Linked DNA regions of Homo sapiens: regions 1, 2, 3, 4, 5 and 7 are each linked to region 6. Evidence: promoter capture Hi-C in 16 types of primary human blood cells and fetal thymus (Javierre and others, 2016). All regions are on one chromosome and are shown on one strand. Each heading gives the region's core, a stretch centred on a gene start or on the middle of the fragment in contact. The rest is flanking DNA. Distances are from core to core; before and after follow the strand shown. Region 1 overlaps KCNJ4 (potassium inwardly rectifying channel subfamily J member 4). Region 2 overlaps DMC1 (DNA meiotic recombinase 1). Region 3 overlaps DMC1 (DNA meiotic recombinase 1). Region 4 overlaps DDX17 (DEAD-box helicase 17). Region 5 overlaps DMC1 (DNA meiotic recombinase 1). Region 6 holds the start of PICK1 (protein interacting with PRKCA 1). Region 7 overlaps DDX17 (DEAD-box helicase 17).

Evidence for each region. The method cuts DNA at HindIII sites, captures the fragments that hold promoters and counts their contacts. A CHiCAGO score of 5 or more calls a contact.
Region 1: a contact is called between a fragment that was not itself captured here and the fragment with the promoter of PICK1 in region 6, in 1 of 17 cell types (endothelial precursors). The highest score is 5.7, in endothelial precursors.
Region 2: a contact is called between a fragment that was not itself captured here and the fragment with the promoter of PICK1 in region 6, in 2 of 17 cell types (M1 macrophages and endothelial precursors). The highest score is 5.9, in M1 macrophages.
Region 3: a fragment that was not itself captured here is called in contact with the fragment with the promoter of PICK1 in region 6 in 6 of 17 cell types (endothelial precursors, M0 macrophages, M2 macrophages and 3 more); the score reaches 9.0 in endothelial precursors.
Region 4: a contact is called between a fragment that was not itself captured here and the fragment with the promoter of PICK1 in region 6, in 1 of 17 cell types (M0 macrophages). The highest score is 5.3, in M0 macrophages.
Region 5: a contact is called between a fragment that was not itself captured here and the fragment with the promoter of PICK1 in region 6, in 2 of 17 cell types (endothelial precursors and M0 macrophages). The highest score is 9.1, in endothelial precursors.
Region 7: a fragment that was not itself captured here is called in contact with the fragment with the promoter of PICK1 in region 6 in 5 of 17 cell types (M2 macrophages, total B cells, naive B cells and 2 more); the score reaches 6.5 in M2 macrophages.

What each region holds. Positions count from the first base shown.
Region 1 is chr22:38,447,950-38,451,452 of GRCh38, reverse strand. All of the region lies in intron 1 of KCNJ4 (potassium inwardly rectifying channel subfamily J member 4), which reads left to right. Among named protein-coding and RNA genes, the nearest start is that of KCNJ4, 5.5 kb to the left of the region's middle. The HindIII fragment of the contact is 3,753 bases long and covers 69-3,503 here.
Region 2 is chr22:38,519,744-38,523,518 of GRCh38, reverse strand. It overlaps DMC1 (DNA meiotic recombinase 1), which reads left to right. Exons shown (of 14, transcript NM_007068.4): 13 at 1,795-1,911; 14 at 3,430-3,775. The coding sequence ends at 3,499. Among named protein-coding and RNA genes, the nearest start is that of DDX17, 15 kb to the right of the region's middle. The HindIII fragment of the contact is 1,114 bases long and covers 752-1,865 here.
Region 3 is chr22:38,556,124-38,559,404 of GRCh38, reverse strand. The region is part of intron 5 of DMC1 (DNA meiotic recombinase 1); the gene reads left to right. Among named protein-coding and RNA genes, the nearest start is that of DMC1, 12 kb to the left of the region's middle. The HindIII fragment of the contact is 1,237 bases long and covers 1,037-2,273 here.
Region 4 is chr22:38,484,318-38,487,918 of GRCh38, reverse strand. DDX17 (DEAD-box helicase 17) reads left to right here. Exons shown (of 13, transcript NM_006386.5): 12 at 1-40; 13 at 1,479-3,601. The coding sequence ends at 1,984. Among named protein-coding and RNA genes, the nearest start is that of KDELR3, 18 kb to the right of the region's middle. The HindIII fragment of the contact is 8,417 bases long and covers 1-3,601 here.
Region 5 is chr22:38,537,362-38,540,948 of GRCh38, reverse strand. It overlaps DMC1 (DNA meiotic recombinase 1), which reads left to right. Exons shown (of 14, transcript NM_007068.4): 9 at 1,537-1,628; 10 at 2,337-2,410; 11 at 2,540-2,654; 12 at 3,297-3,357. Among named protein-coding and RNA genes, the nearest start is that of DMC1, 31 kb to the left of the region's middle. The HindIII fragment of the contact is 1,273 bases long and covers 1,147-2,419 here.
Region 6 is chr22:38,055,158-38,058,820 of GRCh38, reverse strand. PICK1 (protein interacting with PRKCA 1) reads right to left here and starts at 1,417. Exons shown (of 13, transcript NM_012407.4): 1 at 1,234-1,417; 2 at 971-1,068. The coding sequence starts at 1,011. RefSeq lists enhancers at 716-1,339, 1,584-1,643, 1,340-1,965. The HindIII fragment of the contact is 5,557 bases long and covers 690-3,663 here.
Region 7 is chr22:38,502,319-38,505,647 of GRCh38, reverse strand. The region is part of intron 1 of DDX17 (DEAD-box helicase 17); the gene reads left to right. Among named protein-coding and RNA genes, the nearest start is that of DDX17, 2.3 kb to the left of the region's middle. RefSeq lists a silencer at 1-61 and an enhancer at 1-272. The HindIII fragment of the contact is 328 bases long and covers 1,200-1,527 here.

The DNA.
Region 1 (3,503 bases), core at 696-3,195, 390 kb before region 6:
CTCATTTTAAAGCCAGTTTCAGGCAGTCCCAGGCAAGGACAGGTTGGATTTGGGGTTAACTGGAAGCTTATGCTCCATTCTAGAAAATTCCCAGAGCTGGAGGTGGAGCAAGATAGGGAGCAGCTGTGGTTGTTTTGTGAGATAGTGGGCTCCTCAATCCTAGAGGTATTCAAGCAGAGCCAGATGAGCACCTGCCAGGTGACTCTCGCCTTACGGGTGAGGCCGAATAACATCCCCACTTCCAAAATCCTAGGAGTCTTTGGTGTTTCCCAAAGAGGAGCTGGGAAGCAGTGCCCATCGCTTCCCCGCTTCCCAGCGAGGAAACACATTTGCTCGCCAGGCACTGGGCTAGGAGCTTTTGCAAATTCCCATTTAATTCTCCATGGCAATGTTGATTTGATGTCCCCGTGTTATAGATGGAAGGGCCATGGCTCAGAGAATCTATGTGATTTGTCCAGGGTCACACAGTAAGACAGCAGAGGAGCCTGGGTGTGAGTTCAGACTAGTCTGATTCTCGGGGGCTGTCTCTGGGGCTTCCCTGGGGAAAGAGTGGAAAACGTTCCTCCCTGGGGCTGGGGCTTGGCAGGAGATGGTCTAGACGCCCCCACAGCGTGACACCCCCTCAGGGATCCTCTGGCTCCTCTGGGGGCTCCATTCTGAAGACAGATACCACCATGCATCTTAGGGGAGAACTCATTTCATAGATGGGAAGACTGAGGCCCAGAGACAAGGAATGACCTGCCCGAAGGTGCCCAGAGAGTTAGATTAGGGCCAGGCTGCCTGTCTCCTGGCCCAGGGCTCTGTCCCCTGTGCCAGTGAGTGAGGAGGGGCCTTTGGGCTGACGGTGGTGGCATGAGGTGTGAGGTCGGGAATGCAGAGGGCTGAGAGAGGGCTGGCTCCAAGCTAGGGCTGCAGGAGGAAAGTTATCGGCGCAGGGAGAGGGGAGCAGAAGGGAAATGGCACATGTGCTACAGAGCCTGGTGAGGTCAGTGGGACCTGGCTGGCAGGAGAGGGTCTTGGAGACAACTTCCTTGGGTGGCTCTCTGTGTGACCTTAGGTCAGTCCCTCACCCTCTCCGAGTGATGTCCACCCATCCATGTGAACCTGGGCTGAAAGATCTATTTCCACCGAGTAGCTGTGGTTGGGCTGCTGTCGAAAAGCGCTCCTCCCAACGATGGGAGGACTGTGGGTCCTGGCAAGGGGCAGGCGGGAATCCTAGGGGTTGGCATAACCTTTAAGCCTCCTCTGCGGACTCAGCCCTCCTTGGGGTGTGGGGGATCGCCAGTCACAGCCCTTCTTCTCCTTTTCATCTTTATTTTTCTCCTGTTCCCTCTTCCCCTCGCTACGTGGGCTGATCGCTGCTCAAACTTTTAATTCAGATGGTAATTGAAATAATAATATGGGCTGAGGCCCCTCTGCTTGTGACGCTGCAGCTGGTGGAGCTCGGCTATGAATAGACCTTGAGTCACACACGCGCGCTCCTGCAGGCGCGCACACGGGCGCTCACGGGGTGGTGGGTGGGGTGCAGCATGGGGAGCAGGGGTGAGCTCACGCTCTGGCTTGCTCTGGTCTTGGCCCCCCACTCCCAAAGGTCTTGACCAATCCTGGCCCCGTGGCCCAACACGGGGTCCCTGTCGTGAACCTGGAAGACTTTGGACATAGATGATTCTCATTTACAGAAGGGGAAACTGAGGCTCAGCAAGGGGAAGTGGCTGGCTGGAAACAGGCTGGATTTGAATGGATGGGTTTTGCCTGATTCTAAGACCACTGTTCTCTGTTGGGACACACAGGGTGGGAAACCGGTGGGGAGGAGTGCTGGCGTGTGGCCCCTGCCCCTCCCTCTGCACCCGTTGCCCCACCTGCTCGCAGCCCCCTTTCAGCCTGCGCGTGCATGCTCAGGCACAGACACAGGCACACACGCATGCGCATGCGTGAGGGCTGCTCAGATGGCTGGTGCCGTTGCTTGGTGGCTGGGGTGAGAGCAGTGTTCTCAGGGTATTGCTGCAGGAGGGAAGCTGAGTGCCAGGCTCAGCGCTGGGCTTCATATTCATGATTTCACTTAATCCTCCACCACCCTGGGAGAACCATCACCCCCACTTCTCAGATGAGAATACTGAGGCTCAGAGAGAAGCAAGGATTGGTTCCAGGCTCCTGGGTGGAAACAGCCACAGATGCTTTGTCCTACTGTGCACCCAGTGCCAGCCCCTCCAGGACCCTCATTGGCCACCTGAAGGGAGGTGGGTACATGTCTGCCAGCCTAGGCCTCCCCTTTCCTTCCATGCAACAGCTCAGCCACTCCTCCCTGTGGCTGCTGGCCAGTCCCTGACCAGCCCTGGTGCCAACAGCTGGGACGTCTGGCCTTGGCAGGCAGGGGAGGGTGAGGTGCCCCAGAGAGACATTGGCAGGTCAAGAGGTCCTTAGGGGCTACCAGGAAAGGGGGTCCTTGGTGTTCCCGACCCCAGCAGGAGCTGTGGAGGGAGAAGTCAGCGTTGTAATGGTGACCTGTCAGCTGGGAGCTTTGGTCTAGGCCTGGGGGGCCCCCAGCAGGGCAGAGGGGAGCTGGGGCATGGGAGGTGCAGTTGGGCGGAGGAGCTCCCTGGGACTGGGATGGAGGAGAAGCCCCCACCAAGCCTGGCCCAGCAGCTCCTGTCTGCGGCTGCATTGGCCTTCTCTCCATTTCCTCTCCTGGGAGATGGAGAAACCGAGTCCGGAGACCACCAGGGTTTGCCCAGGGTCACTCAGCAATGGTGGCAGAGCCTCTCAACCCGGAGCTGCTCCTGACTCCTCTGTGTCCTGATGGCTCCCAGGGCTGCCGGCCCCTCCTCTCTCACTGACACTCCCCAGAGCTGTGGGGTCTGTGGGAGGCGAGCAGGGTCTGGGTCTCTTTAAGCTCCTTCTCCCCAGAAAATCCCCAGATCGGAGCGAGGGGAAGGGCAGCACTCCCTGGTCACAGCAGTAGGAAGGGTGGCCTGCGTCAGGGGCCTGGGATCGAATCCCAGCTCAGCCCCTCACTGGCTCCGCATGACCTTGACTAGGCCACTGTCCATCTGGGGGCCTCTCTTTGCCCCTCTGTGTATCGGGGGCCACCCATGGGGATGGTGGGGCGTGCTCAGCCTTTTCCTGTTTTGCCTGTCCTGGGAGAAGCTCACACACCAGCGACCCGGGCTGCAGGGATGGGAGGGTTCCTTTTTTTTTTTTTTTTTTTTAAGACGGAGTTTCGCTCTTGTCACCCAGGCTGGAATGCAATGGCACAATCTCAGCTCAGTGCAACCTCTGCCTCCCGGGTTCAAGCGATTCTCCTGCCTCAGCCTTCCAAGTAGCTGGGACTACAGGCATGCGCCACCATGCCCGGCTACTTTTTTCTTTTCTTTTCTTTTCTTTTTTTTTTTTTTTGAGAGTCTCACTGTGTCTCTCAGGCTGGAGTGCAGTGGTGCAATCTCGGCTCACTGCAACCTCCCCCTCCCAGATTCAAGTGATTCTTCCGCCTCAGCCTCCCGAGTAGC
Region 2 (3,775 bases), core at 59-2,558, 460 kb before region 6:
GTACTAAAGGCAGAACATGAAAAGTACATTACAGAAGCATAAATACAGTGTTTGCAGGCTCGGAGTTCATAGCTCAGTTGAGAATATCCTCAGGGTCTCAAGCAGCCCATCTATATAGAACATAAGATTATTTTAAAACCATGAAGAACCACCTGTAAGGTAGGGTGACCTGAAAAGTTAAGTGGCATCGATCTGTAAGCATTATAGAGACAACTCACTTATCTAGCTATTTTATCCAACTGAGAAGGCTTTATTGCTTTACTACCATGTCAGGTGCCTGGCAAAGCAACCCAGCTTTCTGACTTCTTAACTGCCGCCGTTAGTCTCAACTGTCTGGCTACTACTTTCTTGATAGTGGTTCACTCCAAAACTAACTCTTTGTCCTTGTTCCTATGTTGGACCTGCTGCATTTGCATTTAAAACATTTTTTTAAAAATGTTTTTAAGAGGGCCTCACTATGGTGCCCAGGCTAGCCTCTGAATTCCTGGGCTCAAGTGGTCCTCCTGCTTCAGCCTCTCAAGTAGCTGGGACTACAGATATGTGCCATAGTGTCCAGTTTCTACTGAATCTTAATCCTATTCAGCACCAACCAGGGGTCTTCTGGTCCTAACCTCTGAGCCATTTAATCAAGTAGCAGTTTATCTCAGCAAACTCCTTTACCAAAGAGCTTCTTATCCCGACCAACCTACAGTCTAAATATATTTAACCTCATGCCAATCAGCTACATCCTTGCTATACCAAGCCTGAAGCTTAGAGTAAAACCAGAATCATGAACACTTTAATGGAGCAAGCACAACTTGAATTGACTTGTAACTATATTCTTTCAGAACTGAAGCTATTATTCTATATCATAGTTTATTTTGATCAAGTATAACCTTTAGTTTGTGCTGTTCCCTTATTGATGATTTCTAAGCCCACATTTTCTTTTTTTCTTTCTGTTTTTGTTTGTTTGTTTTTTGAGAAGGAGTCTTATTCTGTTGCCCAGGCTGGAATGCAGTGGCTGATCTCAGCTAACTGCAGCCTCCACCTCTTGGGTTCAAACAATTCTCTTGCCTCAGCCTCCAGAGTAGCTGGGATTACAAGCATCAGGCACACGCCACCACACCTGGCTAATTTTTGTATTTTTAGTAGAGATGGGTTTTTGCCATGTTGGCCAGGCTAGTCTCGAACTTCTGACCTCAGTGATCCACCCACCTCGACCTCCCAAAGTGCTGGGATTACAGGCACGAGCCACCGAGCCCAGCCAGTAATCTCATTTTTTAAAGTCAGGCTGGGCACAGTGGCTCGTGCTTGTAACCCCAGCACTTTGGGAGGCCCAGGCGGGCAGATCATGAGGTCAGGAGTTCGAGACCAGCCTGGCCAACACAGTGAAACCTCATCTCTACTAAAAATACAAAAAATTAGCTGGGCGTGGTGGTGGGCACCTGTAATCCCAGCTACCTGGGAGGCTGAGACAGGAGAATCGCTTGAACCCAGGAGGCAGAGGTTGCAGTGAGTGAGATCACACCACTGCACTCCAGCCTGGGCGACACAGCTAGACTCCATCTCAAAAAAAAAAAGTCAAACAAAATATAAACTATTTATCATAGGAATCTCAAAAGCCTAGACTAGATGGGGTATATAGCAGCTCCAAAACTCACCTCACTCCTTAGTTTATGAACAAGCCTCTGCTTGTTTAGAATATACACTTATTCCAACTCCTGACATCCACCACAGAAAGATTGCCTTGTAATTGCAGATATTGCCATATATAGTCCATATGATGAAACCTGAAAGAGTATTTTATTAATTCAGCTTTCAGGCAGATCCCAAAAAACCCATTGGGGGACACATTCTGGCTCATGCTTCAACAACAAGAATAAGCTTGCGAAAGGGAAGAGGAGAGCTCAGAATTGCCAAGATTTATGACAGGTAAATTTTTTTTTATTTTGTGTGTGTGTGTGTGTGTGTGTGTGTGTGTGTGTGTGTGTGTGTGTGTGTAGAGACGGGGTTTTGCCATGTTGCCCGAGCTGGTCTCAAACTCCTAGGCTCAAGCAATCCTCCCACCTTGGGCTCCCAAAGTGCTGGGACTATAGGTGTGAGCCACCACAAGGCTGTAATTATTACTGCCAGATGCTGTGTGTTTGAATTTCTTTCTAAAAAATTATTCAATTTATTGGGAAGTCCCTACTGTTACTAGGTACTAGGGATTGAGGGATTCTATTGACACATAGACTTGGTCCCTGACCTTTCAAAGCATACACCTAGATAATGAAATCATCAATTCCAATTAAATTGTGTTAAATACAAGGTAAGTATCAAGTATGGGAACATATCCTCCTTTCTTTTTGCCAGGTTAACTCTATTTGTTTTTCAGGTTTCAGTTTAAACATCACTTTCTCAGGGAACCTTTCCCTAACCCTTACAGTCTAGGCTACTCAGTATATTATACCCTATATTCTTTCTCAGCACTTTACGTGTTTAATTAAGAATTACAGATTTTGGCCCGGCACAGTGGCTCACACCTGTAATCCTAGCACTTTTGGGAGGCCGAGGTGGGCGGATCACCTGAGGCCAGAAGTTTGAGACTAGCCGAGATCGCGCCACTGCACTCCAGCCCGGGCGACAGAGTGAGACTCCGTCTCAAAAAAAAAAAACAAAAACAAAAAACAAAAAAGAATTGGATAACCTGGGAGGATGTGCTAGACAACCTATGTTTCCATGGAAGGTACTCAGTAATCTTTTAATTTATTTCAAAGTATTTTACAGTTTGCTCCTACATTAGTCTAGTCATAAGAAAGGTGCATACCCCTATAGAATCAGATAAACCTCTAAGGGGCTGCTATACAATGCCTGACACTATACTAAAAGAACATCCAGTTGGCCAGGCGCAGTGGCTCACGCCTGTAATCCCAGTACTTTGGGAGGCCGAGGCAGGCGGATCACCTGAGGTCAGGAGTTCAAGACCAGCCTGGCCAACATGGTGAAACCCCGTCTCTACTAAAAATACAAAAATTAGCCGGGCGTGGTGGCAGGCACCTGTAATCCCAGCTACTCAGGAGGCTGAGGCAGGAGAATGGCTTGAACCCAGGAGGCAGAGGTTGCAGTGAGACGAGATCTCACCATTGCCTGGGGGACAAGAGCAAGACTTCGCCAAAAAAAAAAAATTAAAATAAATAAATGAAAGAACATCCAGTTATCCTTTCACCTGTTTCCAAGTTTGGAGTAATTTTTCTTGACATTCAGAACTTTATATATAGAAGTTGCTCAATAAATGTTTGTGAGGGTTAATAATACTTGTGGGTAAGTTCTGTAGGCCACATTTGGTTGTACCAACTCTGAGATGTCTCTGGAGATTCAGACTGATGGGCACATAATGCCTGTGACATGAATATAGTATTTATAGAAATAGAGCTTTTTATAAACTTCTGTTCCCTTGTATTCTGTTAGTCCTGAGATGCCTGAAAATGAAGCCACCTTCGCAATAACTGCTGGAGGAATTGGGGATGCCAAGGAGTAGGTGGTGAATTGATGCAAATTGCTTCTTAGTGCTTATTAGGAGCTGAAGAAATGGAAAAGCAGTCTCCAATTTCACATCTTGAAATAGAGGTTTTTTCCCACATGTTACTAAAGAAAAGTCAGCAAAGAGATTTAAATCTTATATTTATCTTAAAAGTCCCTGATTTATGATAACTATACATTGTATGTAAATTCAGGGATATGTATATGTATGTTTGTGTGTGTGTGTGTTTGTGTGTGTATACCTGACATATATAGTAGATATATATACCTATTG
Region 3 (3,281 bases), core at 406-2,905, 500 kb before region 6:
CTTAGGTCAGGAGTTCTAGACCAGCCTGGCCAACATGGTGAAACCCTGTCTCTACTAAAAATTACCAAAAAAATGGCTGGGCACGGTGGCTCACACCTTTAATCCCAGCGTTTTGGGAGGCCGAGGCGGGTGGATCACTTGAGATCAGGAGTTCGAGACCAGCCTAACCAACATGGAGAAACCCCGTCTCTACTAAAAATACAAAAAATTAGCCGGGCATGGTGGCATGTGCCTGTGGTCACAGCTACTCGGGAGGCTGAGGCAGGAGAATCGCTTGAACCTGGGAGATGGAGGTTGTGGTGAGCCGAGATCGTGCCACTGCACTCCAGCCTGGGCAATAGAGTGAGACTCAGTCTCAAAAGAAAAAAAGAAAAAGAAAATACCTGTTTAACCCAGCATTGTCCCAGACTTTTAAAATCACATACCCTTTTTTCAAGTAAAGTTAAGGAAGAGGCTTGGAGAAATCCTACCCCTAGGCAAATTGGTCAAAATGAGGTTGATCAACAAAACACTTGATTCAAATGACAATCTGATTTTCTTTAGTTACTCTACCACATGGTGGTCTAAGAACCACTGGGCTAAAGAAATAATTACTGTTATTGTGAGTTTTCTGGTGCCCTTGATGTTTGCTCTTGAGAACAGAAAAGATCATTCAGGAGCTAGGTTTTTTTTTGTTGTTTGTTTGCTTTTGAGACAGAGTCTTGCTGTGTCGCCCAGGCTGGAGTGCAGTGGCATGATCTCGGCTCACTGCAACCTCCGCCTCCTGGGTTCAAGCAATTCTCCTGCCTCAGCCTCCTGAGTAGCTGGGACTACAGGTGTGTGCCACCACACCGGGCTAATTTTTGTATTTTTAGTAGAGACAGAGTTTCACCATGTTGGCCAGGCTGGCCTCGAACTCCTGACCTCAGATGATCCACTTGCCTCGGCCTCCCAAAGTACTGGGATTACAGATGTGAGCCACTGCGCCCAGCCAGGAGCTAGGTTTTTAAAAATTAATATTTAATTAATTAAAATATTATACATTTTTCCTTAAGCTTTAAGTCCCTTTATAAATCTAGCACATTTTAAGGGTGCTTTTATAACAAGATTAAATTCTCTTAAACATTTTAATTATGTTTATACATTTAGTGTATTGTATTTTCTTTAAGAACTTTATTTGTTGGCCAGGTGCACTGGCTCACACCTGTAATCCCAACACTTTGGGAGGCTGAGGCGGGTGGATCACAAGGTCTCTACTAAAGACAGGATCACCCTGTCTCTACTAAAAATACAAAAATTAGCCGGGCATGGTGGCGGGTGCCTGTAATCCCAGCTACTCAGGAGGCTGATGCAGAGAATTGCTTGAATCCAGGAGGCAGAGGTTGCAGTGAGCCAAGATCACGCCACTGCATTCCAGCCTGGGCGACAGAGTGAGACTCCGTCTCAAAAAAAAAAAAAAAAAAAAAAAAGAACTTTGTCTAATTATCTAATTATTAACAGCAAAATCTTCCCAATTACCTAAATATCTTTTGTAACTCAAATAAATTTAGAAGTATAGTGAGTTGTAGGCACCATTAAATGTTCAAATACTATTTATAAAATTAGTTATCAACTTGAAAATTGAAGGAATGTACCATTTAATCAGTCAGAGGCCAATCCATTACAAAAAGGTCAAATTATCTTAAACGTTAAAAGGTCTCAAATAGCAAATATGCACAGGTTATTACCAAATTTATTTATTTATATTCTATTTTATTTTTTGAGACACGGTCTCACTCTGTCACCCAGGCTAAAATGCAGTGGCTCCATCACGGCTCACTGCAGCCTGAGTAGATGGGACTGCAGGCACAGGCCAGCATACCTGGCTAATTTTGGTATTTTCTGTAGAGACTGGGTTTCGCCATGTTATCCAGGCTGGTCTTGAACTCCCAGGCTCGAGCGATCCACCTCCCTCGGCCTCCCAAAGTGCTAAGATTACAGACATGAGCCACCATGCCCATATTGCCAAATTTAATATGAAAATAGTAATCTATGGGTTTGATTTGTGTCTCTATTTTTAAATCTCCCTATATTTAAAAACACTATTTCTACACTTAATTCTAAATTTTCCTGAGTCTCAAAAAGGAAACAATTGTGCTATCCCAAATAATTTGGGGTATCCTCACAGGTAAATTTTGGGGTTACCTTTTCAGCTGATTGAGATTACATATCAACCAGGAATTTTGTCTGGGATTTTCCAGAGGTATAGCTTTCCAGGGTAATTTTTCTCAGGAAGAAGAGGGACAAATAAAGCTTTCTTTAATAGTTGCTAGCCCAACCACCATGGCACACGTTTACCTATGTAACAAACCTGCATATCTGGCACATGTACCCCTGAATTTAAAATAAAAGTTGAAGAAAAAAATAGTTGCTGGGCCTATAAGATTTCCAAGTGTATTCCCTCCAAATGGGTTGATCGCTTAGCCCATGTCCTTTAGATTTAAGTTGTGCAGGTACACTATCTAGATTTTTCTTTTCCTTATTGAAGTCTGCAGCCCTCACTAAATTTGTGGATAACTTCCAACATTGTTTCAATTTACATTTAAATTGCTCTCTTAAACTATGTAAATGTAAATGTATTGGATTATCTATATATCTTAAATTTTTGTCTGACCTGTGATCACATCCCAAAAAATCATGTTAATAGACTACATACAAGGTTTTTAAAGTGCCCCTACCAGGTCTTAGCACAATTAACACAATTAATATGTGTTGCATTTAATGAATGAATGAGATCATGACTTAAATTTAGGCCTTTTCTTATTCAGAGCTTTAAATGCACTACAACATTGGGCTACCAATTAAATGTATGCTGTCAGAATCTGACAGTTACTCTTCTAACTGCTAGCATTACCTACAACATCTTTGACATTTACTATTCTGACATGTCCTCCATAATATTTGGTTTATGTGAGATAACCTGACCATAATGACAATCACTGGATTTTCCTAATACCTGTTTTTCATATGTTTTTCAGTATATTAAAAACTGAAGCCGGGCATGATGGCTCATGTCTATAATCCCAGCACTTTGGAAGGCCAAGGTGGGCAGATCTCTTGAGCCTCAGGAGTTTGAGACCAGCCTGGGCAACATAGCAAGACCCCAGCCATACAAAAAATAAAAAATTAGCCCTGTGTCAGGTGACAGAACAAGATTCTGTCTCAAAAAAGAAAAAGAAAAAACATTGAAAATTCAATTGACTATAGAAACATAGTTCCAGCACAATATTAAATACCCAATTAATAACTAAGATGGGCTGGGC
Region 4 (3,601 bases), core at 447-2,946, 430 kb before region 6:
ATGCAGCTTGTGGACCACAGAGGAGGCGGCGGAGGCGGGGGTAAGGGTAAGTCCTGGAGTTTTCCAGGTACTGCCAAGGTATCTCTTTACGCCTTCTGTGACTTGCTTTTAGTTGCTGTTTTTAAGAAGGCTGTAAGTATGTTGCTTAATAGCAAAGGACACTGCCTAATGCTTTTTATAACCTTTTTCAACTAAGAAAACGTGAAGTTTGTTGTGATAGTCCTATTAGTTAAGCTAAATTGTGAATTTTTTTTTCTTAGAGACTGGTCTGAGGTTTGGTTTTGTTTGTTTGTTTGTTTTGAGACGGAGTCTTGCTCTGTCGCCCAGGCTGAAGTGCAATGGCGCGATCTCAGCTCATTGCAACCTCTGCCTCCCAGGTTCAAGTGATTCTCCTGCCTCAGCCTCCCAAGTAGCTGGGATTACAGGCACCCGCCAGCACACCCTGCTAATTTTTGTATTTTTAGTAGAGGTGGAGTTTCACCATGTTGGCCTGGCTGGTCTCGAACTCCTGACCTCTGGTGATCCACCTGTCTTGGCCTCCCAAAGTGCTGAGATTACAGGAGTGAGCCACCAAACCTAGCTGAGGCTGGTCTGTGGAGTTTCACCATGTTGGCCTGGCTGGTCTCGAACTCCTGACCTCTGGTGATCCACCTGTCTTGGCCTCCCAAAGTGCTGAGATTACAGGAGTGAGCCACCAAACCTAGCTGAGGCTGGTCTGAGTTTTAATGTGGTTGCTTTGGCGGGGCGGGGGCAGAGACAGTCTCACTCTGTTGCCCAGACTGGAGTGCAGTGGCACGATCTCGGCTCACTTCAACCTCTGCCTCCTGGGTTCAAGTGATTCTCCTGCTTCAGCCTCCCAAGTAGCTGGTACTACAGGTATGTGCCACCATGTCCAGCTAATTTTTGTATTTTTTGTAGAGACAGGGTTTCACCATGTTGGCTGGTCTTGAACTGCTGACCTCAAGTGACCCTCCTGCCTTGATCTCCCAAAGTGCTGGGATTACGAGAGTGAGCCAGTGTGCCCCCGGTCATGGTTGCTTTTTTAATACTTTCAAAAATGCTTAGTAGTATATTAGGTTTCCAGTTTTCCATACGGAGAGGTCAGTCATTTTACACTGTTTAGTGGTGGGTAGAAACTGAGACATAGCAGTTGCATCTACAGTTGCAGAATATCCTAGGATCTGGGCTTCCTGACTCAAGGTTTCATATTGTAATACCGTGTTTCTTGATCATCCTCAAGTAAGGGGCCTAAAAGGGTGAAAAGGTCTAGTGTCCTTTAATTTTTACTGTGCTTTTGAATGTGCCCCATTAAAGAATCAAATTATGAGTATATTTTTACAGTACTAATTGGGAGGCTGGCCAGCATAACTAAATATCAAGGAGACATGTTTAATACTTTTGTACCCAGTAGAATTTTTACATTGTTATGTTTAGGTCCTATATCTGCCATTAAAAATCTTCTTGTATCTTCCCATTAGGTGGTCGTTCTCGTTACCGGACCACTTCTTCAGCCAACAATCCCAATCTGATGTATCAGGATGAGTGTGACCGAAGGCTTCGAGGAGTCAAGGATGGTGGCCGGAGAGACTCTGCAAGCTATCGGGATCGTAGTGAAACCGATAGAGCTGGTTATGCTAATGGCAGTGGCTATGGAAGTCCAAATTCTGCCTTTGGAGCACAAGCAGGCCAATACACCTATGGTCAAGGCACCTATGGGGCAGCTGCTTATGGCACCAGTAGCTATACAGCTCAAGAATATGGTGCTGGCACTTATGGAGCTAGTAGCACCACCTCAACTGGGAGAAGTTCACAGAGCTCTAGCCAGCAGTTTAGTGGGATAGGCCGGTCTGGGCAGCAGCCACAGCCACTGATGTCACAACAGTTTGCACAGCCTCCGGGAGCTACCAATATGATAGGTTACATGGGGCAGACTGCCTACCAATACCCTCCTCCTCCTCCCCCTCCTCCTCCTTCACGTAAATGAAACCACTCAAGTGGTAGTGACTCCAGCAGACTTAATTACATTTTAAGGAACACTGTCTTTCCTTTTTTTTTCCTCTTCGCCTTTTCTTTTTTTTTCCTTTTTTCTTTTTTTTTTTTTAATTTTTCCCCCCAACCATCGTGATTTGTCTTTTCATGCAGATTAGTTAGAATTCACTGCCAGGTTTCTTCTGCCCACCAAAATGATCCAGTCTGGAATAACATTTTGTAAAAAAAAAAAAAATATATATATATATATATAGCTGACTGGAAGAGATTAATTTCTTCCCCCAACTTCTTGCATGTTGAAGATATTTGAGCTATTTTTCATCTAAAAGAGTAAGGTATTAGGCCCTTTTGTGGGAGCCCCATGTTTTGTTTTTCTGAGTTGGTGGGGAGGGAGGGAGGGGGAGGGCTGAATTGTTTTGCAGAGGAAGATGGCATCTGTGCTTTAAATTTCTCATTACTGGGTTAGAAAACAAAGAGGGATTGCCCTGCACATTTTCTTTTGTGCTTTTAAATGTTTCTTAAGTTGGAACAGGTTTCCTCGGGCCTGTTTTGACTGATTGCTGGAGTGCATTTGATAGTTAAAAATTACTAATTGGTTTTATTTCCCTTCACACTCTGCCTCCCCACTTCTCCCCCCGTTACTGAAAAATAACCATTTTAGTGTCAGGCTAGAAATTGAATTGCTGAGTTTTGTGTATCCTTTAAATTAAAAACCACAAGTGTTTATTGTAGTGGTTAAACTGTAGCATCTCAGCATCTGGGTGGAAGCTGCCTATATTTCTTCCCAGTTTAACTGGGGACCATCTGTGAAATTAATTTTCCATCCAGACAGCTGCTGTGAGCAAATGAACATAAATGCTCGCTGGAAATTTACTAACCAGTTTTTATATTGACCTGCAGTGTAAAAAGCACATTTAATTATAAACAATATATTCAAAATGGGCAAATTTTATTTTCAAATGCAGTGTAGAGCTAGATTAAAAGCAACTCTTTGCCACCTACTCTGCCCTTTTGGCAAAGTTACCTTGAACAAAGAATCTTAAGGGTTTATTAAGAACTCTTTATTTTCTTCATACCCTGTTCTCTGCAGTGCTTTCTAACAGCTTCTGGGTGCAGATTTTCTTCGGCATCCTTTTGCACTCAGCTTATTACAGGTAGGTAGTGCTTAAGAAAAGTCATGGAGGACTAAAGCCTAAGTCCTTTTCACTTTTCCTCCATCTGAAGGTAGGTGAGTTCATCCTCTTCATGGTAATGCTGTTTTACCAAGACTTTATAGCAGATGGACCCAGAAAGAATTTTCTGCTATTGTGTTCACTACAACAGGATAGGGACATCAGACAGCCCCAGAAACCCCTTCCAGATCTGATATGGGACTATTAATTTTTATGCTGTTAATTGGTATTCATTCACAATGCAGTTGAAGGGGGAAGGCTCCACTGCATTCTTTGGCTAAGGCCTGAATGCTTGCTCATCTGTAAGATCTATACTCGAGGTTTTGTTTTCCTTTTAAAATTCTTTAGGGAGAGAGGGATGGTTTCTGAGGGGTTCTGAAAGTATGATTCAATGTGCAACATACAGGTAGGTCTTCAGCATAAGCTGAAATATATGCATG
Region 5 (3,587 bases), core at 534-3,033, 480 kb before region 6:
CTTTGTATAAGGGCACTTTCAGCTTTTAATATTTAACTTAACCACTCAGTCAGTGCTGAAACAGTTGTTATGGAGGCCTGCATTAGTAAGACCTGGCCTGCCACAACATAGTATCTGGGATTTGTAGAAACCGACATGATGAAAATGTTTTTATTGCCTCTTCCAATTCCCTGTCTAACTTGTCCACCAAAAACATCTACTGGGTATACTCAATAACAATGGAAGATTTTTGTGGCTGTCACCAAAGCTCTAACAACAAGAACATATCTAGTGCATTAGGATATAAATGGCTGGGAATTTAAATTAATTGCAAACATCACAAATAAGATTATAAATGGTCCTTGATTTACAGTTACTTATACTGGGATCAGTGTTATGTAAACACTATAAACAAAGTGAAATAAGGTTACAAACATGCATTTAATTTTACCTCATTTTACTTCAGACATATTGTTGGGATCACCAAAGACCTAAAAAAAATGTTTATTACTCCTTTATAGTTTATAGGTATAAGTGATTATTAGCTTCTTCCAGAATACTTTTGCAGGTGCACTTAGTTTGCTTCCCTATGAATTTGCTAATTTCAGAAAGCTAACAACTCCTGGCTAGGCATGGTGGCTCATGCCTGTAATCCTATCACTTTGGGAGGCCGAGGCAGGCATATCACTTGAGGTCAGTAGTTTGAAACCAGCCTGGCCAACATGGTGAAACCCCGTCTCCACTAAAAATACAAAAATTAGCTAGGTATGATGGCTCGCGCCTGTAATCACAGCTACTCAGGAGACTGAAGGAGGAGAAAACAAAAAAAAAGCTAACAACTCCTTTAGAAGAAAGTAGATTTTAAACTGTATATACTTTCCAGGTAAGATTTGAAAAGAAAAAGAAAACCTATGCCAACAAAAAACCTTTGGTCGATATTTCTCTTCTGGGCCCTTGAAGTTACCTTTTTGACCCTTTGGTTCATGTAGTCAAATTTATCATTTAACAACATGTGATTAATAATATAATAAACTATTTCATATTGAGGAATGAGGGGTATGAAGAGAGTGAATTAATTCACTTTGCAGTTATTGAATTATAATTCAGTGATATTATCTATTACAGGTCTATTTTTATAGATCTGAGAACAAAAGGACTCACAAAGCTTAGTTCCTAGTTTTTCTCTTGTAACTGATTTGCTGCATAAGCTCAAGTCATTTGCCTAATCTCTGTTTGCCAGTGTCTTACGTTGTAAAATGTAAAACAGGCCATAAAAACTAGCTTCCAAGGTTATTGTAAAGTTTTGATAATTTAATAGTTAAAGTCATTACTGCCTCACATTTCTATGACCATTATCACTACCTATGGTAAGTTGAGGCACTTATGAATAAACAAATCTTGTATAGACTTTAAATGGTTGCTAGCATCCTCTAGAATACCTTCACAGGTACATTGTTTGGCTTCTCTGTTAATTTACGGAAGATATTATGTTTTGTAGTGGTTGTCTAAACTTTTTTAGAATTGACTTATTGGATCCTTAATCTTGGCATACTCCAGCCGTCCAGATCGCCTTAGGGACATTGCTGATCGCTTTAATGTAGACCATGATGCAGTACTGGACAACGTACTTTATGCACGTGCATATACTAGTAAGAGCCCCATGCAGTTGGATGCTTGGGTCAATGTAAGGTTGGCAGCACTGATTTACTACTTGAGGGATACAACATTTTGATACTTTTTTTCTATTTTATTTTTCTCTAAATTAATTTACTCAGTCTATAAATTTTATCATCTGGTAAGTCCTTAGATAATAAAGTGCCCTCAAATTATTTATTATTCTTTGTCTTTGAAATTAAGAGTAACATTCTTTTTGGATAATGTAGCATTTGGTATACATGCTAAGGCAGAATATGCAATAATTTTTTTTTTTTTTTGAGATGGAGTCTCGCTCTGTCACTCAGGCTGGAGTGCAGTGGTATGATCTCGGCTCACTGCAACCTCCAACTCCTGGCTTCAAGTGATTCTCCTACCTCAGCCTCCCAAGTCGCTGGGATTACAGGCACACGCCACCACACCCAGCTAATTTTTGTATTTTTTAGTAGAGTCAGGGTTTCACCATGTTGGCAAGGCTGGTCTTGAACTCCTGACCCCAAGTGATCCACCTGCCTCGGCCTCCCAAAGTGTTGGGATTATAGGCATGAGCCACCATGCCCTGCTGCAATAATATTTAATAAAGTCATCAATAATTAAGAAAATCCTTCAAGGAATTTATTTTGCCTGGCTCCCAAGAATATGAATGATCTTAGCCTCTGCTTCTTTCAACTTTTATAACATTTTCTCACTGCATTTCCCATCAGGTGAACATCAGATGGAGCTACTTGATTATGTAGCAGCAAAGTTCCATGAAGAAGCTGGCATCTTCAAGCTATTGGTACAAGCTTTTAAATATTGCTTTCACAGAGCTATTTAGCATAATATTTTTCTTCTATTGATCTCTATTCAAATAACGTCTTCCTTCAATTTCCAAATGCATGTTTATTTTTACATTAATCCTGTGTAGATTATCGATTCAATAATGGCACTTTTTCGAGTGGATTTCAGTGGCCGTGGGGAGTTGGCCGAACGGCAGCAAAAATTGGCCCAGATGTTGTCACGACTCCAAAAAATCTCAGAAGGTATATCTTTAAAATAAAATGGCATCTGTGACTATGTTTGTCAAGTATACTTTGCAGAGAAGCTTGGAATATAATGTCAGGAGGCAGCGATTTTTTTTTAAATAAAATTACCTTTATGAGAATACAACTCTTTGTTTTTTTTTTGTTTTTTGAGATGGTATCTCGCTCTGTTGCCCAGGCTGGAGTGCAGTGGTGCGATCTCGGCTCACTGCAACCTCCGCCTCCCAGGTTCAAGCAATTCTTCCTCCTTAGCCTCCTGAGTAGCTGGAATTACAGGCACCTGCCATCACACCAGGCCAATTTTTTGTATATTTAGTAGAGACGGGGTTTCACCATGTTGGCCAGGCTGGTCTCGAGCTCCTGACCTCGTGATCTGTCCGCCTCAGCCTCCCAAAGTGCTGGGATTACAGGCATGAGCCGCTGAGCCCGGCTTTACAACTCTTTTTAAACCAAAAATATTTATTCTAACCTTAATAATAATAATAACAAATAATTTCTGTTGTCAATGAAAAATAGGAATATGATGTTATTTATAAAATAAATTCATGATGCAATATGTCTAAACTCTGAAATCTAAACAATGAACTTTTAAATATCTATATTGCCTTTCTCATAGTTTTAAAATTTTATCTCTTGATGCAGAATATAACGTGGCTGTTTTTGTGACCAATCAAATGACTGCCGATCCAGGAGCAACTATGACGTAAGCCCCAATATTCTACTTTTTATTTCACAGAGGTTAATATAAAGAGGGTTAGAGCGTAGAATAGAAAATAATTTCAAGGCCGGGCACGGTGGCTCACGCCTGTAATTCCAGCACTTTAGCAGGCTGAGGCAGGCGGATCACGAGGTCAGGAGATGGAGACCAGCCTGACTAACATAGTGAAACCCCGTCTCTACTAAAAATACAGAGATTAGCCGGGTGTGGTGGCG
Region 6 (3,663 bases), core at 168-2,667:
GTTGGCCAGGCTGGTCTTGAACTCCTGACCTCAGTTGATCCGCCTGCCTCAGCCTCCCAAAGTGCTGGGATTACAGGCGTGAGCCACCGTGCCTGGCCAGCTATGGGACTTGGGTAAGTCAGCCTCTGTGCATCTCAATTTCCTCATCCATAAAATGTGGATGAGCACCCTTATCAGAGTTCTTCTAACCATGCATGGAGGGCACTAACAGCAACCCAGTCCATAGCAGGCACTCCATAAAAATAGGTCCCCCTTCCCTTTCATTTATTCGATCTCTGAGATTTGAGCCAGGTTCTGTCCTTGTCACCTTATCAGGCATCTATGTAGTATGATGGCCACCTACTCCAGGGAGTCTTCCTCTATTAAACTGTCCACCTCCCACCTCTCAACTGCTCGATTACCTCTCGGTTTCCACTATAAATTAGCATTGACTGGTGTTTTATGATAAGTACTCACGCTGATTCACTTATTCATTCAAAAAACATTCGCTAACAACCTACTGACGTCAAGTCCCTTACTAAGTGCTGAGCATAGAGAAAGGCATTGCACCCACTCCTTGATCTGAAAGAGGATATATTCTAATGGGAAAATCTGTCCTACTAACAACCTATGTTGGGAAGGAAGGGTGTCTACAATATTCCTATTCAACCTTCAAAACCTGGTTCAATTGCTACGTCCTCCATGAAGCTTTCCTTGACCATCCCAGCAGAAGCACTGCTCCATCTGCTTTGCTCTTCTTGTCACCAAGTCATGCTAATAGTGCCCTTATGGCACTGAGCTGTGATTATCCCTTTAACTGTCCACAGCCCCCTACAAATAGTGAGCTCCTGGGAGAGCAGGGTCCATTGCTGCTTCAGTACAACAACTGATCCACCGCTGAGAAGCAAGGGTCTGTGGGACTGGGAAGTCCAGGGAAATGAGGAACTTGGGGCTCCTATACTGCTGGAACTTGGGGGAATAAAATACTCACAGTTTATCCTCTTCGATGTCATAATCCAAGTCTGCAAACATGGTTCCGAGAGTTGGAGTGGGCTGGCTAACTGCCCAGCTCGGTAGGGGAATGGGGAACTGGATCCGGGAGAGAAAGGAGCATAGGATTTAAGGAACCCAAGTGCCTAAATGCCAACGCCACCCCTCCCTCCACCACCTCATACGGGACAGCAGTGCCCTCCTCTTCCCTCTGGAGTGGGATGGGACAGTCTCCGGGTGGGGGGCTGGGTAGGTGATTCTTACTAGGTACAAAGGGGGGCTCCAGGCCAGGGCGATAGGCTCAGATCCCAGAGTCCGCCCCACGGGTCTCCAGGCCCTGGGGAGCTGCCTCTGTCGCTCACCGGAAGCGTTGGTCCCACAGCCGGGTCCCGGCCAGGCTGGTACCTGAACCCACCTGCCGTTCCACCTGGCGGTGGCCGCGATTGTCACGTCACTTCCGGCAAGACGCGGAAGTCCCGGCTTTCCCCCCACTGGATATTTGCTCCAATCCCTGCAGACAATCCTTCCCTTCCCGGCTCCCGGGACGCTCGGAACCAAGAACGAGAACAAGTATTGGCGGAAGCTCGCTGTTAGTAGGAACAAGCGAAAACAGAGGAACGGTCTGGACAGGCTGACAGCGTCTAACCCCGCCCTTTGCCCTGCCGCCGCCGCCATCTTGGGAAGGGCAGGGTTTGTCCCAGCTTCCTCAGCTGCACTCAGGGGCCCGCGCCGGCCCGGCGGTTGCCATGGCAACGAAAGCATCCCTGAGCCGGGGTTACCTCCGGCGAGGCTCAGTGGACTATAAACCCCAAGACATCATGCCCTTTCACCCCTTCACCACCTGGGCCTGTGACTCCCCTACTAGAATGGCCCTTTGAGGTCCCAGCCCATCCCAGTTTCGCCAACTTAAGTGCCAAAGAGCGGGGAGTGATTTTGTGCGGGGCCACACACAGTTGGTGTAAGATCTGGATCGTGGCCCTGAAACTCCCGCCGCCTAGTCTAGGGATCTTTGAACGTCCAAACACTAAACAGAGAGCCAGGAGAGGTGTATTCAGTGGGTCTTGCTATTAAGGACAGACTGGACATGCTCCCTTCCCTTTATGTGCCTCAGTTTCCCCATATGTAAACCAAGGCCATTGAGGTAAATGCTTTCTATGGTATATGGTGAAAGGTTTCTCACACCCCCTCCTCCTTCCTTAGTCCTGAGGAGCAGCCCCCCTGGGGTCCCAGGGAGGGTCACGGTCCGCATGTACCTGAGGCTCGGGAAATGCTATCAGTGCTCCCCAGAGTCCGAATCTTGTCTCCTCGCCAGCCTCTGCTGCCACTGCTATTGTGTAAAGTGGGTTCCCTGGGGGAGGTTGGCTCTCCCAGAGCCACAGCCAGGCATCCACCTCATCCGGCAGCATGGGGCCAGGCCCATCCAGCTTGCTTCCCCAGCTGCCCCAGGAGCCATGGAAGAAAGATACAGAAGGATGATTATCCACATATCCCACGGCCGGTGGAAGCCCCGCCCTACTCTCTCCTTAGGTGGCTAATTGAGTCCGGACAGATGTGCAGAATGCCGTGACAATAACAGCCTTCCCACGTGTCCACTGCTCTCCTGTGAGATCACTTTCACAGGATTTGAAAGCTCACCACCACCCTGTGAGAGAAGACCAAATCTTGCCAGCCACATTGTGCAGGCAAGGAAACGGAGGCCCTGGGAAGCCTCTTCCTCTGGTATCATAGCGGCAGGGCTGGGGCTGGGAAAACCAAGCTCTGTTTCCAGGCCAGAATTTTGGTTTCAAAAAGCAGCAGTCTAAGGCCAGGTGCGGTGGCGCACACCTGTAATTCCAGCTATTTGGGAGCCTGAGGCAGGAGAATCGCTTGAAAATAGGAGAGGGAGGTTGTAGTGAGCCGAGATCAGGCCATTGCACTCCAGCCTGGGCGACAGAGAGAGACTCCGTTTCAAAAAAAAAAAAGGCAGCAGTCTCCAAACCCAGGTGCCTTAACATGGATTGTGGCTCTTCCAGCCCATGACCATGCTAGCTCAGGCCCAGGCTCTGCCATTTTGTAGCTGGGAGATCTTGGGTGAGTCGCTGTCTCACTCTGAGCCTCAGGTACGTGTAGAATGGGGAAATGACACCTGCCACCAGGTATTTGTGAAAGTCAAGATTAAAAGGAGAGGCTGGGCGCGGTGGCTCACGCCTGTAATCCCAGCACTTTGGGAGGCTGAGGAGTGTGGATCATGAGATCAGGAGTTGGTATAAGATCTAGATCATATATCTGGACCAGCCTGGCCAACATGGTGAAACCCCGTCTCTACTAAAAATGCAAAAATTAGCCAGGCATGGTGGTATGCACCTGTAATCCCAGCTACTCAGGAGACTGAGGCAGGAGAATCGCTTGGACCCGGGTGGCGGAGATTGCAGTGAACCGAGATCGCGCCATTGCATGCCAGCCTGGGTGACAGAGCCAGACTCCATCTCAGAAACAAAAGATTAAAAGGAGAAACAGGTGTGAGTGCTTTGTAAACAATTTGCATGGCACAGCTGTCACTCTGACCTCAAAACCCCCTACCCACTCTGGCCCTTCTTCTCAGGTTGGGGAAGATGCCCCTGTTTTCTGCCTTGTTCATCCCTTGCCTGCAGGCTCCGCTCTAATTCACCTCTTCCCGGCAGCCTTAGCAGACAATCTCAGCTCATATATCTTGCT
Region 7 (3,329 bases), core at 114-2,613, 450 kb before region 6:
GGGCTTTGGCGCCTCGCCTGGTTTCCCGGCTCTCGAGCCGGGCCGCTTCGGGCGGGCTGTTCGATGTCTCCAGGCCTCGGCGTTCATCTGAAAAACGCGGATCTTCCTGAGAGAACACTTCAGCCCAGGAAAGCCTTACACGAAATGGCACCCTTGACGTTCTCTCCCCAGAGTTCACTGTTTAAGGCACGGGAGACGAAAAGACCAACTTCTCATTTTTAGAAATAGATTTTAATTCTCTTCAGTTATATTTTAAGTCGGAGGAAATGCATTGGGATGTAAAGCAGTGGAGTTGCTTGCCATCTAAATGACCGTGTTTGGGGGAAGGATGGGTTTTTGGGTCGTTACTTTAGTTTTAATCTTAATATTTCAGCCTTTTTTCTCTAATTGGACTGCAGCGTCAACTATTCTGCCTCGCTAGAAAGTTCTTGGTATTGTGGACCGGGCGTGGTGCCTCAGGCCTGTAATCCCAGCGATTTGGGAGGCCGAGGCGGGCGGATCACCGGAGGTCAGGAGTTCGAGACCAGCCTGATCAACATGGAGAAATCCCGTTTCTACTAAAAATAACAAAATTAGCCTGGCTTGGTGGCGCATGCCTGTAATCCCAGCTACTCGGGAGGCCAAGGCAGGAGAATCGCTTGAACCCGGGGGGAGGAGGTTGCAGTGAGCCGAGATCGCGCCATTGCACTCCAGCCCGTGGCAAGAGCGAAACTCCGTCTCCCCCGACCCCCCCGCTTCCCCAAAGAGTTACGTGACGCCACTTGATATGTGTGTGTGTGACCTTGGTCAAGATCCTACCTTTTGTGAGCCTGTTTCCTCTGAGGAACGTGATAATTGCCTTTACTTTGCTGTGTTGTCAGGAATTAAGAGATAATGGATGTAATAGTCTCACTGTAGTAGGCGCTCTGTTAACGATATTTTCTCCAAACGTTTTTGTCTTTTGTGGTTCAGATCCACAACTGCTGGATTTACTAGTCTCAAGCACTTCAGTTGCCACTTTTTACAAAATTATTTTGATTTATACCTTATTAGGAAGGAAAATATTTTATCTCATTGTTTAGAGGATGAGAGGTGGAATGTTTGCTTCGCGTGTGACAGTATTGCTAAGTTTAGAAGTGAATTTCAGTTCATTGACTTAGAAAAAGAACTTGAGATTATCTAGGAAAGTTGAAAACGACCCAGCAATTCCTCCCTAAGCTTTATACCCTAGACTGTAATGCCTAGAGAAATCCTTGCACAGGTACCCCAGGATCCTTGTACAGAAAAGTTTATATACCAGCATTCGTGCTAACAGGATATTGGAAACAACGCAAATGTCTCCATAAATTGTGGGTATTCGTACAATTGAATCAGCCGTGAAAAAGAGAAAAGAACTTGGATTAATGTGGATAAGTCACAGAAGTGTTGAGTTAAAAAGCACGTTGTGGTAGGGTGACACATTTAATTAAGGATATGTGCAAATATGATAGGAAAGGGAGTGGTTAACAAAATTCAAGGTAGTGGTTATTAGGGTGAAAGTTGTAAGCTTGAAATAGGCACATAGAGGGGCTACAAGTTACTAATAGTGTTCTATTTCTTTACCATTGGTGTTTGGTTTAATATTTCCTTTCACCATATATATGCTTTAATAAGTTATTTGAAAGGAAAAAAGTGAATTACTGATCCATACTTTGAGTATCAGATGACATTTTTTAAAAATTTCAAACGAACTAGCCTTCTTTCATAAGATCTGTGCCCCAACTCTCCCTTTCCCAAGAAATGTTCTTGATTATTTGAATTGCTGTTGTTTCAACTGAGTGTTACACAGTTGAAGTGGTGGTTATTTTGAAAAAGGAATAGGTGAGGTCAGTTCATGTATTTCACATGTGTGATGCAAAAATGATAGGCATTGTACATTTGAAGTAGTATGGTTTTTAATGTTAATATATGACTTCAAAGGTGAATTTTTTTGTAAAGCCAAATTAAACTAATTACTGACCGGATAAAAACATTTGAGCAGCATAGTATACCAGAGAGTACAGTGTGCGTATTTAAAGATGGCATGGATATGCTCAAAAGTAAAAGGCTTTCTTGAATTTTGAGGTCATTAATTATGTCAGCATTAATTATAAACATGGAAGACGGCATATTTTCCAAGAACCACATGTTTCAAATTAAATGTTTAGTGTAGAATAGAATGTCTTGAATAAATAGCCAGGGAAGTAAGGAGAGAGGAAAAAAAAATACATGAATGATAATCATCAGTTTAAAGCCTTAACAGGAATCTTACTTTCAAGTTTTATTTTTTCCTAAGTCACTAAGGTTTGGGTAGCATTGCAATGTGGCAATAACAATGAAGTCTTTTATAATTTGCAAGAGTGATAATCCAAAGACTTTCTACCTCTTGAAAAGTACCTTATTTAGCTGCTTCATTTGCAAGTGTGGCGGGAGCGGCAATTGAGGTGGCCTTTTGGTCTGTTCAGTATTGAGTCTTAAGCTGAGGGGCATATTAAATATGTCGCTGACACGGGTATCCCTATGCTATGTGCTCTTCCTGTTCTGATTCTTAATTTGTCTTCACTGTCTCAGTAGTGGTATAAATGGAATTAGCCAAGTTCTGCCTGTTGAGTGTAGGTATCCAGTGATCCCAATAAAATCTCCTGCCATCAATTTTTGTTACGTATGTATTTAGAGGAATGTCTGGCTGGTTAAGCCAGAGTTCTAATGGCTTTGAATTGCAGGAAATTGAGGCCCTGTAGAATAATACACCTACTTGCCTATCAATGATAAAGTGGAACTTTATATAAGATGAAGTTACAAGTGGGTTAGAGTGGGAAAAGGGAACTAAATTCAGTACAATATTTTACAAGGAGTAAAGAAACTGAGAAAATGCTATACAGTTTGTATGCCAAACAAAGACCTGTACTTTACAAGATCGAAATAGGGAAAATTAAGGCCATCTTAGTGTTAAGATTCTTCTAGGAAAAGTAGCTTCTGATTTCTTAAATATTAGCTTTGGCTAGTGGTCATATTTGTATTCCTCTTGAGCTTGTCTGTTGTGAAAGGTATATAAAAAGCAAGAAGTTGATCTTAAGTAATTAGTTGAGTGTTAAAGCCTTAAATAAGTCTTGTTAGTGTTTTTTTCTCTGTAAATTAATAATACCATTTGGGAACAAGAAGGAGATAGAAGGTAAAAGTAGAGATCAAAGAAGAAGGAAAGGTCATAAATCTATGTTCAGCTTTTTTTTTTTTTTTTTGACGGACCCTCCCTCTGTCTACCAGGCTGGAGTGCTATGGTGCCATTTCAGCTCACTGCAACCTCCGCCTTCCGAGTTCCAGCGGTTCTCCTG